4 separate regions of the Homo sapiens genome follow, and all the other regions are linked to region 2. Evidence: promoter capture Hi-C in 16 types of primary human blood cells and fetal thymus (Javierre and others, 2016). All regions are on one chromosome and are shown on one strand. The core of a region is centred on a gene start or on the middle of the fragment in contact, and the rest is flanking DNA. Distances in the headings are between cores, read along the strand shown. Region 1 overlaps SNHG14 (small nucleolar RNA host gene 14). Region 2 holds the start of MAGEL2 (MAGE family member L2). Region 3 has its middle 48 kb from the start of SNHG14. Region 4 has its middle 11 kb from the start of UBE3A.

Region 1 (2,700 bases), core at 28-2,527, 1.6 Mb after region 2:
ACTCATTCCAGATGTCAATCTGAGGTCCAGATGTGCGGCCCTCCAATAGGACAAATAAGACTCTCAGAGCCTGGCTCTATTTGGGGATCCCTCAGTGACAACATAGTACCCCTGTGAGCGTGCCTTTTCTATCTCTTCGAAGAGGGCAGTGGCATCCTGTCTTATGAGTCAGTGTGCACTTTAGTGTGCCTAGTGACCCAAGACTTGCTTTAATTGTAGATAGATACTTACATATAGGAAATATTTCTTAAGTAACAAATGAAAAACTTTAGAAGATTGAATTAAGGGTCAAGCAACTGTGATATGTCTGAAAATCTCATTAGTGTTGTGCTGAAAGAAGGAAATATGGCATGCCTCTATTAAATAATGACAGTGGAACCAAGTTTATTGCTTTGTTATTTTTACTGTGGAGTATTTTCTAAGATTATTTTTGCTTTTTTTTTCTTTCATGTTTTGCTGAGATAGAAGGCCTGGAATCTGATCCTCCACTTCAGAGAACAGGGGTGAGTAGCTAAGCCATTATCTTTTGAAATTCATATGTCATGTGCTCTTTGCTAGGTCTTTAGGTCGTTTTGTACATCTTTTCAGAAGCTTATTGGAGGACATTTTCATGATATGTCCTTTTCCTCATTGAGACCCTCACCATGTCACCTACACTATTGAATCCTTATCATTTCTCTTTTAATTTTAACTCTCTTTTGCTTTTATGGAAAAATGTAGAATTTAAGAGAATTTTTGGCAATTTCATATTGGATCAAAATGTATTGTAGTGAAATCCAGGTGTGCCAAAATATTAACAGATTTTCCCCATCTGTTTAATTATTGGGGTTTCAGAATAGAGACTCCATGGTTCATAATATCTTTGTGGTCATACTACATTATATTTCTGCTTCTAATTTAATTATTAAATATTGACTTGAATTAGTCTTTTCCTCATTGTTGCAACAAGGTAAGTTATATAGGAAATTTTCTTCTCTTGATGGCATGTCTGAGATAATCATAGATATAAGACACCTGGCTGGTTTCTAGAATGCATGTAATTTTTATTTCTTGATCTGTGTGTTGAGTACTTGCTGTGATTGCATCATGCAAATACATTGAGCTTTACAATTTTAGTGTATGCACTTTTCTACATGTATATTATTCTTCGATAGAAAGTAAAAAAAACTTATCGAACTAGTCAAAATATTGGTTAATACATAAAAAAAGTCTCAAGTAGATTGTGTATTACATGGTGCTTGTTGATTGATGCCCTCATAATAGATCAAGTGGGTTCTCTCTTTAGCACAGGGCTTTTTAGCAAATCATGTCATGAGTAGTTACTCAAGTATTTTTATTTTAACACATTTATATTTTTTCTATGTATATTCTTAAATTCTCTTATACTTTTTTCTCTGTTATAAAAACATGCTGAACAATCTCAAGTCTTAAGGATTGCAGTATTGTCCCCACATATTCATGTATTTTGGTACTCAATTCTTTATACTTTCTTTGACAGATCACTTGAACTGGCACATGTCTCTTGTTTTGCAGAGAGGGAATTAATGTGATACCTTCATGCTTTTCTATTCTATGTGCTACATAATTGAATATACAAGCAAATATAGTTGTTAAGATTTAGTGTGATTATTTCTACACCACATGCAAAGAAGTTTCTCATAGATCTTAATAGAGGCCCACATGCATTGTACAGTTTAGAATTTGGGGAAATATTGATGAAGTTGGGTAAAGTATAAAGCCAAAAGTCAGAACAGTGAACTCCTTGCTTAAGGATTTCCTTGGAGATTACTTAGTCAATACACAACTGATAAATTTAAGTGCTTTTCACCTTTTGAGTTCTCGACATACTAAAGCTAAAATGTGTTTCAACTTTTAATCCTGCTTCCCTGATTTTCCCTTTTTTAGTCTGAGATCAAAGAGTTTCAGCCATAAATTACTGCCAAGAGTAATCACTTCATTTTAAGAAAGCTTAACAATATAGAAGAATATAAAATTATTTATGACAGATGTATTTTTAACCTTTTCCCCATGCTTTCCAGAGGAAATATGTTTAATCATCTGCCCTATATTAGGGAAAAACTTTCTATGCTAATACAAGTATCTATCAATCCATTTATCTTTCTATATAAGATGTATTGATCATAACCAATTAACTTTACTGTAAATGAGCTTTAGATTTGACATTTTGGTAGTAATATATGTTGTACAATCTCCTGAGGTCCTATAGGTCTTGAGGTCTCTATGTCAAAAACTATAGATGTGCCAGTGTCCTCAGTGAATGTGAAGGACACCACATTTTCCTTAGCCATTTCTTGTTTTCAGAATAATGGTTATCAACATTTTGCTACTGCAAGATACCATACATTTATAATCGGAATATGCCAGTTTTTATGCACTCATGCCTCTGTTTCTGTAGAGCATTCCCAGAATGAGTAATGCTTGAAAATTAGGTCCATGTGATTTCTTTAATGAGTTATAGTCAAATCATGAAATATTCAGGTTACCATTATTTCAGTAATGTATTAGAATGTCAAGGTAAAGTTATCTACATTGTATATATACACACAACATAGATATAATTTATACAACATCTATATTTATACAACAGATATATATTTATGTATATATTTATACAACATAAAATATATTTTATTATTTAAACATAAAATATATTTTATTATTTAATATAGATTCTTAAGT
Region 2 (2,700 bases), core at 115-2,614:
GGGGCCCCTGGCGCATGGGCGGCGGCACCTGCCAGGTAACGGCTGGTGCCTGCCAGGTGACCTGCGTGGTCTGCCAAGTCAGGGGAGTGGCCTGCCAGCCTTGCTGCGTGGCCTGCCATCCTGGCGAGGTCGCCTGCCAGCCCGGGGGTGTGGCTAGCTGCGCTGGGGGTGCCTGCGGGCCCTGGGGAACCTGCGGAGGAGCCCTTATAACTTGAGACTGGATTTGCAGGATCAGAGGCTGAGCCTGCGGGGCCCAAGAAGCCATCGGCTGTGCAGGTGGGGCCATCGGCTGTGCAGGTGGGGCCGCCGGCTGTGCCATCGGTGCTCCTGAAGCTGGAGGCTGGGTCATCGGAGCTCTCGCACCTGGAGGATGAATCATCAGGACTCCTGGACCTGGAGGCTTGGCCATCGGTGCTCCTGAAGGCTGAGGCTGGGTCATCATGGCTGCTGGAGGCGGCTGGACCATCGGTGCTCCCGGAGCAGCAGGCTGGACCATCAGGACTCCCGGAGTCAGAGGCTGGGCCATCAGGACTCCCGGAGCTGGAGGCTGGGCCATCGGTGTACCCGGAGGGGGAGGATGAGCCATCGGTGTCCCCGGAGGTGGAGGATGAGCCATCGGTGTCCCCGGAGGGGGAGGATGAGCCATCGGTGTCCCCGGAGGGGGAGGATGAGCCATCGGGGTCCCCGGAGGAGGAGGATGCACCATCGGGGTCCCCGGAGGAGGAGGATGGGCCATCGGGGTCCCCGGAGGAGGAGGATGGGCCATTGGGGTCCCCGGAGGGGGAGGGTGGGACATTGGGGTCCCCGGAGGAGGAGGATGGGCCATGGGAGCTCCGGGAGCTGAAGGATGCACCATCAGGACTCCCGGGGTCGGAGGCTGGGCCATCGGGGCTCCCGGAGGTGGAGGATGCACCATCAGGACCCCGGGAGTCGGAGGCTTACCCATCGGGCCCCCCAGCGGGGGAGCCGGGACTATCGGGCCCCCTAGGGCAGGAGGCTGGGTCATCGGAACCACCGGGGCGGGCAGCTGGCCCTGTGGGGCCTCCCAGGCAGGCTGAGGTGCCTGCCAAGCGGCCAATGAAGCCTGCAAGTCAATTGGAGGTGGATCCCAAGGGACTGGCGGAGCCCGGGAGGAAGCGGGCGGGGCCCGCATCAGAACCGTAGGGCGGCTATAGACAGGCGGCTTCGGGGCCTCCGCCGGAGGACTCGAGTCACCCAGATTCTTACTTAGCTGCGACATGTCCCTTTGCTGACAGCTGGTGGGTCTTTTCCTCGGACAGCTGCTGGGCCTTTTCCTCCAGAGAGAAGAGAATGCCTACGTGGCTGTTCAGAGGCTCCCTCCCTGCTGAATGCTGAATAGGAAGTGAGTGCTGCTCGCTCCGCAGCTTTCCGCAGTAAGGAGGAGGGGGGAAGGGGGCTCAATCCCGCCCCTTCCCCGCCCCCGACCACCACAAGTGGATATTGCATAGGGGCGTCTACCGGAGTCCTGGCTGACACAGGATCCCTTCTCACTCTGTCCAGTCCCCAAATGCAGACCAGTCAGACTCCACATGGATGACTTTTCACAGGGGAGTGACAGGAACCCATCCATGTTTTAGAAAAATCACTGTACTGCAGTGTGGAGTGGGAGCAGACCACTGGAAACATGGAAGGTATCCAAGACGGCGGGGGGAGATGGTGTGGTCTGGGCTAAGATGTGAGGCGGAGAATGAAAAAAGCGCATTTACATAAGAGAGTTCCAGGAGTTATAGCAGACAGATACCTGTATTATAATTGAATAAAGGAGTCAAAGACATGGAAAAGGCACACAAGTCCCTGCCTGGAGAAAGTGGGAAGTTGCAGGGACTGTTACTCTCTTAGGGTCCCAGGAGAGGCACACGGGAAGAGAGGCTGATGAGTATTGGCAGACACAGGGCATTTGCGGTGCTGTGGGACTGCCAAGGAGAGATACCCTGTAGGCACTCCTGTATGATGTCTTGGGAGTCCTGCTTGGCTATTCCTCATGAAAATAGAGTTGTGGGAGGGAATGTGGTTGCACTGGGTCTTGAAGAACACAGGCATGTTAGAGACACATGGAGAAAAGGGACAGCAGCGAGTAGAGAGAGAGGAAAAGAAGTCACGGAACTGAGACATGCCACACATCAGTGGAAGACAGCATTTTTAGTATGGGAAAACTGCCTGTGGAATGGCTCGGATGCAGGAACAGAGTAGGTTTCTCAGTATTTTTCATCTGCAGAATGGGAAAGAAATTTAAAAAATGAAAACCAAATAACGCACCTGAAGATAACAAAATGGGTATATAAATAGATCAAAAATTGATATATTTGGATATATAGGAAAAACAGGCAAAGAATAAAAAAATTTCTGGGGAAACTTCTCGTGACAAAAATCAGTTTAAATATGAGACAAATCAAGTATTAACAGATAAAGCAGATGACAATAGTATTATTGGGCAATGCTATACAACTTTATGGTGAGAGGAAGTGATAATCTCAGTAATTGAAAAGCTTTCTGGAAATATACAAAGCACTAAATATCAAGGATGTTTCGTTTAAATAGGCTGTTGGCAGCCTACGGCAGGAGTCCAGAGTGACAAAACGTGCCACCAGGGGGCAGATGAGGACGATGAAGGGTACACCCCACTCCTTCCCAGGTACCCTTAGCCAGGGGTCCTCAAATTTGGTAATTTATGGACCCAAG
Region 3 (2,700 bases), core at 102-2,601, 1.1 Mb after region 2:
AACGTTGCACAGACCATGATTTTATACCCTTTCTTTTAAATATTAATTTTCATTTCTCTTTTTTCTGCATTCGTCTGAAAAATTGAATTATTTTTCAATAATTTTGAAATTACTGTCATTTTTTAAGGGATACTTCTTTAATCATGTTTGTATTTTCCCTAAGATTCTCGATTGACTCTCTTTTATCTTTTCCAACTAAGCACCTGTTTTACGAGAGGTATTGTGGGGGCTTCAAGGTCAAACTTTCCCCCAATGCCTCTATATCCATTATAAAATACCATTTTTTATTTTAACAAAAAGTTGTACAAGGTTGAAAGAAGTTTCTCAGCTATATGCTTTTCTCTGTATCCTGACTTCCCTTACTTCATCACTCTATCCATCACTTTACAACTGATAATTCAATCCCAAAATTCTTTTACTAATCGGCTTATTAAATTTGTGCCTTCCATTTGAAGAACCGGGGGTTACCCAAGGCCTGATTTTTCCTAGGACACTGGGAGAACACAAGATCTGGTTCCCAGTGCCAGAGAGATGATCACCTAGGAAGAAACAAGTCATAGGTCAGACAAGAGCCACAAGGGCGTCTGCCGTTCTAAACACATTTCCTGTTAGACAGACACTTGGTTATGGGTCAGACAGTTATGGCTTAGGGCATTGGCCACGTAAAAGAAGTATCCCATGAACGGCACACTGTAAACACCCATTTCCAGCTCCCTTTCATCTCCCATTACGGCAGAGTTGATCGCCATTCTGGTACCAGGACCTGGATATAGTTGTAAGTTCCTAGAACCGGAGGTCAGAATTGGCCTTGTACAGTACCTGTAGGAGTCTAAATGAGGGCTACCTACTGGAAGTCAATGAAACAAAGATTTAAGGTGGATCTAAATGGAAATACATATATCTCAAACTGCTATACACATAATAGTCTGATTTTGTACATATGAACTTGAAAGTAAAAGTAATTCATAAATGAATTCGCAATATTTTGAAACTAATTCTGATCTGAATTGGATTTTGAATCAGAAGTCATGGATGTCTTCCACCGTCTGTGCCATGAAGAGAGATGGCAATGAGGCATTCCTTAGTAAATGAGGCTGCACTACTCTGTGATTTCAACCTGTCCTGCTGACACCTTTGTGCATGTTTTGCTGCAGGTGACATTACAGAAGGAAATAGCAGAAGGTTTCAAAACAAGTTCATCCATGTGCAGACAATGAAAACTATGCCATGGCTGCAAGAAGGCTAACAGAATTGTAACATTTGACAGAAAATAATACAAAAAAGTGAAATATGATAAGTAAGAAGGATATGGAAATATTTATTAAGGGAGCCATATTAGTAGAGCTACATCTTACAGAACAAGAACATCTTCCTTGATCAAAGGGGCAAAACTTTCCAGGAGAGAAAAGGAGCATATGAGGTAGAAATAGCGTGATCCATAAGAGGGTCTCTACAATGGCTTGAGAATGGGGAGACAAGAAGAGTCAGGGAGACAGCAGGGTTTACACCTGTTCTGAGAACAGAAAGGAGCAAAAAAAAAATGTTCATTTTCAAGTTCAAATCCTCTTCAGATTGAAAGATAGAGTTAATTGGGGAAAAGACAAGAATATAGTAAAGAGTTTGAGAGATTCATTCATATGTAAAATTCAATATTAAAATAATCTGTGTTGCTTTTTGGCCACTGCATGTGTTGGGCTCACAGGGGAAAATATTTTTAAAATTTATGTCCTCTGATTTCAGTCCAGTGGGAATTCAGAAAACTTAACAAAATCCAAACTGTAAGTGGAAGCGTGCCCCTGGGAACTGAGAGGACAGGCATGAGACCTGTAATGGGATGGACAAGGAAGGCCTCTAGGATGAGGAACATTGGAGGAGATTCTGAAGATTGAGGAACGGTTTTTGACCAAGCAGAGGAGGGGAATTAGAAGAGGAAAAAGACTGTCCATGGCACAGGCCAGGGCATGAGAAAGGGGCAGTGGATTTCAAGGAATTCTGGGAGCTACTGTTTGTAAATTATAGGAGTAAAAAGGGAAGAGCACTGTGGGACTGGGTGTTAATCCAGTGTAGATGTTTCTCCATGTACATACACTTGTTCACACAGCTGAGCCTAGTCTACATGTCTCCTTATGTTCTTTGGTATTCTCCTACAAGCCTCATGATTGTTTTTGGTGTCTCAGAGCATAACATGCGTTACAATTCCAGAAAAATATGCAAGGTCTGGGAGGAAGAAATTTGTATTATTTCACTCAAGTAACATCCCATTACCTTTGTAATAGTCTGTGTTTCAAGTACATCCCATATCCTGTCCACTGTCAGGCGTGGCAGATTATACTACAGGGTTTTGTAAAACAACAGGTAGGGTTCATTGAGCACCATCTTATGGTCTACCTGTCACATCGGGTCTTTTCCAATCTGCAGTAGTTTCTCAGTCTATTTTGCATGACTTTGACCCTTTTGAAAAGAACTGATCAGGAATTTTGTGGGGTGTCCCACAATATGGATTTGTCTCATGTCTTCTCATGATTAGACTGGGGACATGCATAAATTAAACATGTCTAAATTTGATGACAAGAAAAACTGTACAATATACTATTAAGTAAGGTAAGGCTAGGCACAGTGGTTCATGCCTGTAATCCCAATCCTTTGGCAGGCTGAGGCAGGAGAATTGCTTAAGCCCAGGAGTTCAAGATCAGGCTGGGC
Region 4 (2,700 bases), core at 3-2,502, 1.8 Mb after region 2:
CGGGAATGAGAGTATGTTGAAGCTTTTGGGCAAATATCCCCTAGGAAGTTACAGCCAGACTTTCCTAGTCTGATTTTATCCAGTGTTTTCATTGATGACTAGCCCTTTTCTTTAGAAATGTCAGGCTTCCATTATATCTTGCAGGCCTGGAAGCCATTTCTCTTTTTTTTAAGTGACTTATAACAAACTCTGCTTTGGTCCATATGTGAATAAGCCAACAGGTTAACACCCAAAGGCAATCATATTTTCCTTTTTTTCCATATTTCTGTGGCATTTCTATGTGTGCCAAGTGTCAACTGTACTATATTTTATTACCTGATTGTAATCTCCTCACATCTAGAAGTCCTTCAGTCTGAACTTCTTCATGACTTTCAAACCTACTAAACCTACTATCTAGTTCTCAGTAGCTTTTTTCCTATTTCTCTCTTTTTTTCAATTTATTTTATATATATATATTTAAGTAGAGATTAGGTTTCACTATGTTACCCAGACTGGTCTTGAACTCCTGGGCTCAAGCGATCCTCCCACTTCAGCCTCCCAAAGTGCTAAGATTACAGGCGTGAGCCCCACACCCAGCCTCCCAATTTCCCTTTTATGTCAAACACTTCTCATATGAAACATGCCATAGTTTTTTGTACTTCCTTATTTCTTGGTCATTTTTTAAATCTAAAGAAAAGTTTAGAGCATAGTATAATCAATAACCATATTTTCTTTAGCTAGATGTCCTGGTAGTTTATATCTGGCCATATTTGTTCTATCTATCCATTTATCTGTTATCTCCAGCTATGGACCCATTTGTCATAAGTTACAGACTTTGTAACACTTTATCCCTGTATCTTTTCCATAAGAACCAGGGCATTCCCATATATAACCATAAACCACATGCAATTTAACCTTGTTCTGGGTTAGCAGAGACATCTTCCTTAGCAGGCCAGTTTTATGATATGGTTCTGGGAAATGTTCTCAGAAATACAAGCTAGAAGCTGTCTTTTCATCCCTTCTGATTAAACTGTGATTTTCCATTTTTTTTTTAAATAAATCTTTTCTTGCTGCACAGGAAAGGGTTAACTCAGCAGTCCTGGGTTGGTCAAACCCTGTAGGTTCCAAAAAAAGGCCTGCCTTGGCTGGGCATGGTGGCTCACGCCTGTAATCCCAGCACTTTGGGAGGCTGAGGCAGGTGGAACACCAGGTCAGGAGATCGAGACCATCCTGGCTAATACGGTGAAACCCAGTCTCTACTAAAAATACAAAAAATTAGCTGGGCATGGTGGCGGGTGCCTGTAGTCCCAGCTACTCAGGAGGCTGAGGCAGGAGAATGGCGTGAACCTGGGAGGCAGAGCTTGCAGTGAGCTGAGATCATGCCACTGCACTCCAGCCTGGGCGACAGAGCAAGACCCCGTCTCAAAAAAAAAAAAAAAAAAAAAAAAAGGCCTGCCTTCAGGATTGGTCCTTGACTAGCCCCTGACTAACCTCTGAGACCCTGAAACATTCTGCCTGATGAGAGTGTTTTATATACCTGAGGCTGTGGGTCATGCTGTATCAGTTTGGCCAGATAAGTTCATCCTAACAAAGTGATTTATGGTAAATGCCTGTTTTTGGCTCAGGAGCCAGCAGGGAGAGGAGAAGTTTGCGGTGGCTGGAATAGAAGTCATACAGGTACTATATGCCTATGTGACTGACCACTAATACCTGTGAAAACCCTGGACACCAAGGTGTGGGTTATCTTCAAATAATGGCAAAATTTATGAAGTCTTGCCAACCAGGAAGCTACTTCATATGTGTTACACATTATTGCAGAGACAATTAAGTGTATCTCCATGTGACTCCAGCAGAGAAGATATCTGGAAGCCTGGACCTAGTTTCTCCTGGATTTCATCCCATGTACCTTTTCCCTTTGCTGATTTTAATCTGTATCCATTTGCTGTAATGAACTATAACCATGAGTGTAAGAGCTTTTCTGAGTCCTGTGAGTCCTTCCGGCAAATACTTGAGCATAAGGGTCATCTAGGATCATCTGACATGCCTGCCTAGACTAGTTACTATGGATTCTGTTGTCTCCAACCAACAAGTATTATTGACACAGAATTGATGACAAAAGATCCTTAAAGAAATAGAAATCTGGGACTAGTGTCTGAAATGGATTTGAAAACAGTAAGTATCTAAGTAGTGCTGGCAGTGGGACAGTGGTCCATGGCACACAGTGACCAAACAGTTAAATGATCTTTTGTAGTCAGCTGGACTAAAGTAGCTTTTGAAGGAAAGACTTTGATTTAAGAGATTGTGGTTCAAGTCATTAAGCAGGCCACGTGCAGTCTAATTTAGGAGGTGAAATCTTGCACAAAAGAGCTAGAGTAGCAATCTGAATAGTTTAGCCTACAGGGATCTTTGACAGGTGAATTGGTCATGAAGTCCCAAGGACTGAAATAGGTAATCAGTTTACTGTGTCCTTTTAGATAAGTACAATTCTAGTTCTGAGTAAACCAAAGCTTGACTTAAGCCACCTCAATAGAGATTCACAGCCCCTTGCCAAATCCCAAACCTCAGTCAGTTCATAGACACAGAGTCATGTGAGTGAAGGTGAGTCTGGGTACAGCTGAGGATAACCCAATAAGTTCATGCTGTATATTTTCCTTCTAGCCCTCCTGAAGGAGCTACGCGATCGTTTAGCAGAATAACTGTTCACCAAGGGAAAGGAAATAT

The links. Contacts are between HindIII fragments. The CHiCAGO score rates a contact against its expected background, and 5 or more counts as called.
Region 1: a contact is called between a fragment that was not itself captured here and the fragment with the promoter of MAGEL2 in region 2, in 1 of 17 cell types (M0 macrophages). The highest score is 5.5, in M0 macrophages.
Region 3: a contact is called between a fragment that was not itself captured here and the fragment with the promoter of MAGEL2 in region 2, in 1 of 17 cell types (M2 macrophages). The highest score is 8.0, in M2 macrophages.
Region 4: a contact is called between a fragment that was not itself captured here and the fragment with the promoter of MAGEL2 in region 2, in 2 of 17 cell types (M0 macrophages and endothelial precursors). The highest score is 11.9, in M0 macrophages.

The regions. Positions count from the first base shown.
Region 1 is chr15:25,278,382-25,281,081 of GRCh38, forward strand. It overlaps SNHG14 (small nucleolar RNA host gene 14), which reads left to right. Exons shown (of 148, transcript NR_146177.1): 146 at 466-503. SNORD109B (small nucleolar RNA, C/D box 109B) reads left to right here; the gene lies at 1-28. Among named protein-coding and RNA genes, the nearest start is that of SNORD109B, 1.4 kb to the left of the region's middle. The HindIII fragment of the contact is 1,377 bases long and covers 590-1,966 here.
Region 2 is chr15:23,646,503-23,649,202 of GRCh38, forward strand. It overlaps MAGEL2 (MAGE family member L2), which reads right to left and starts at 1,365. Exons shown (of 1, transcript NM_019066.5): 1 at 1-1,365. The coding sequence starts at 1,240. RefSeq lists an enhancer at 1-652. The HindIII fragment of the contact is 5,160 bases long and covers 1-2,505 here.
Region 3 is chr15:24,773,841-24,776,540 of GRCh38, forward strand. No RefSeq gene overlaps it. Among named protein-coding and RNA genes, the nearest start is that of SNHG14, 48 kb to the right of the region's middle. RefSeq lists an enhancer at 1-223. The HindIII fragment of the contact is 5,845 bases long and covers 1-2,700 here.
Region 4 is chr15:25,448,357-25,451,056 of GRCh38, forward strand. No RefSeq gene overlaps it. Among named protein-coding and RNA genes, the nearest start is that of UBE3A, 11 kb to the left of the region's middle. The HindIII fragment of the contact is 2,464 bases long and covers 21-2,484 here.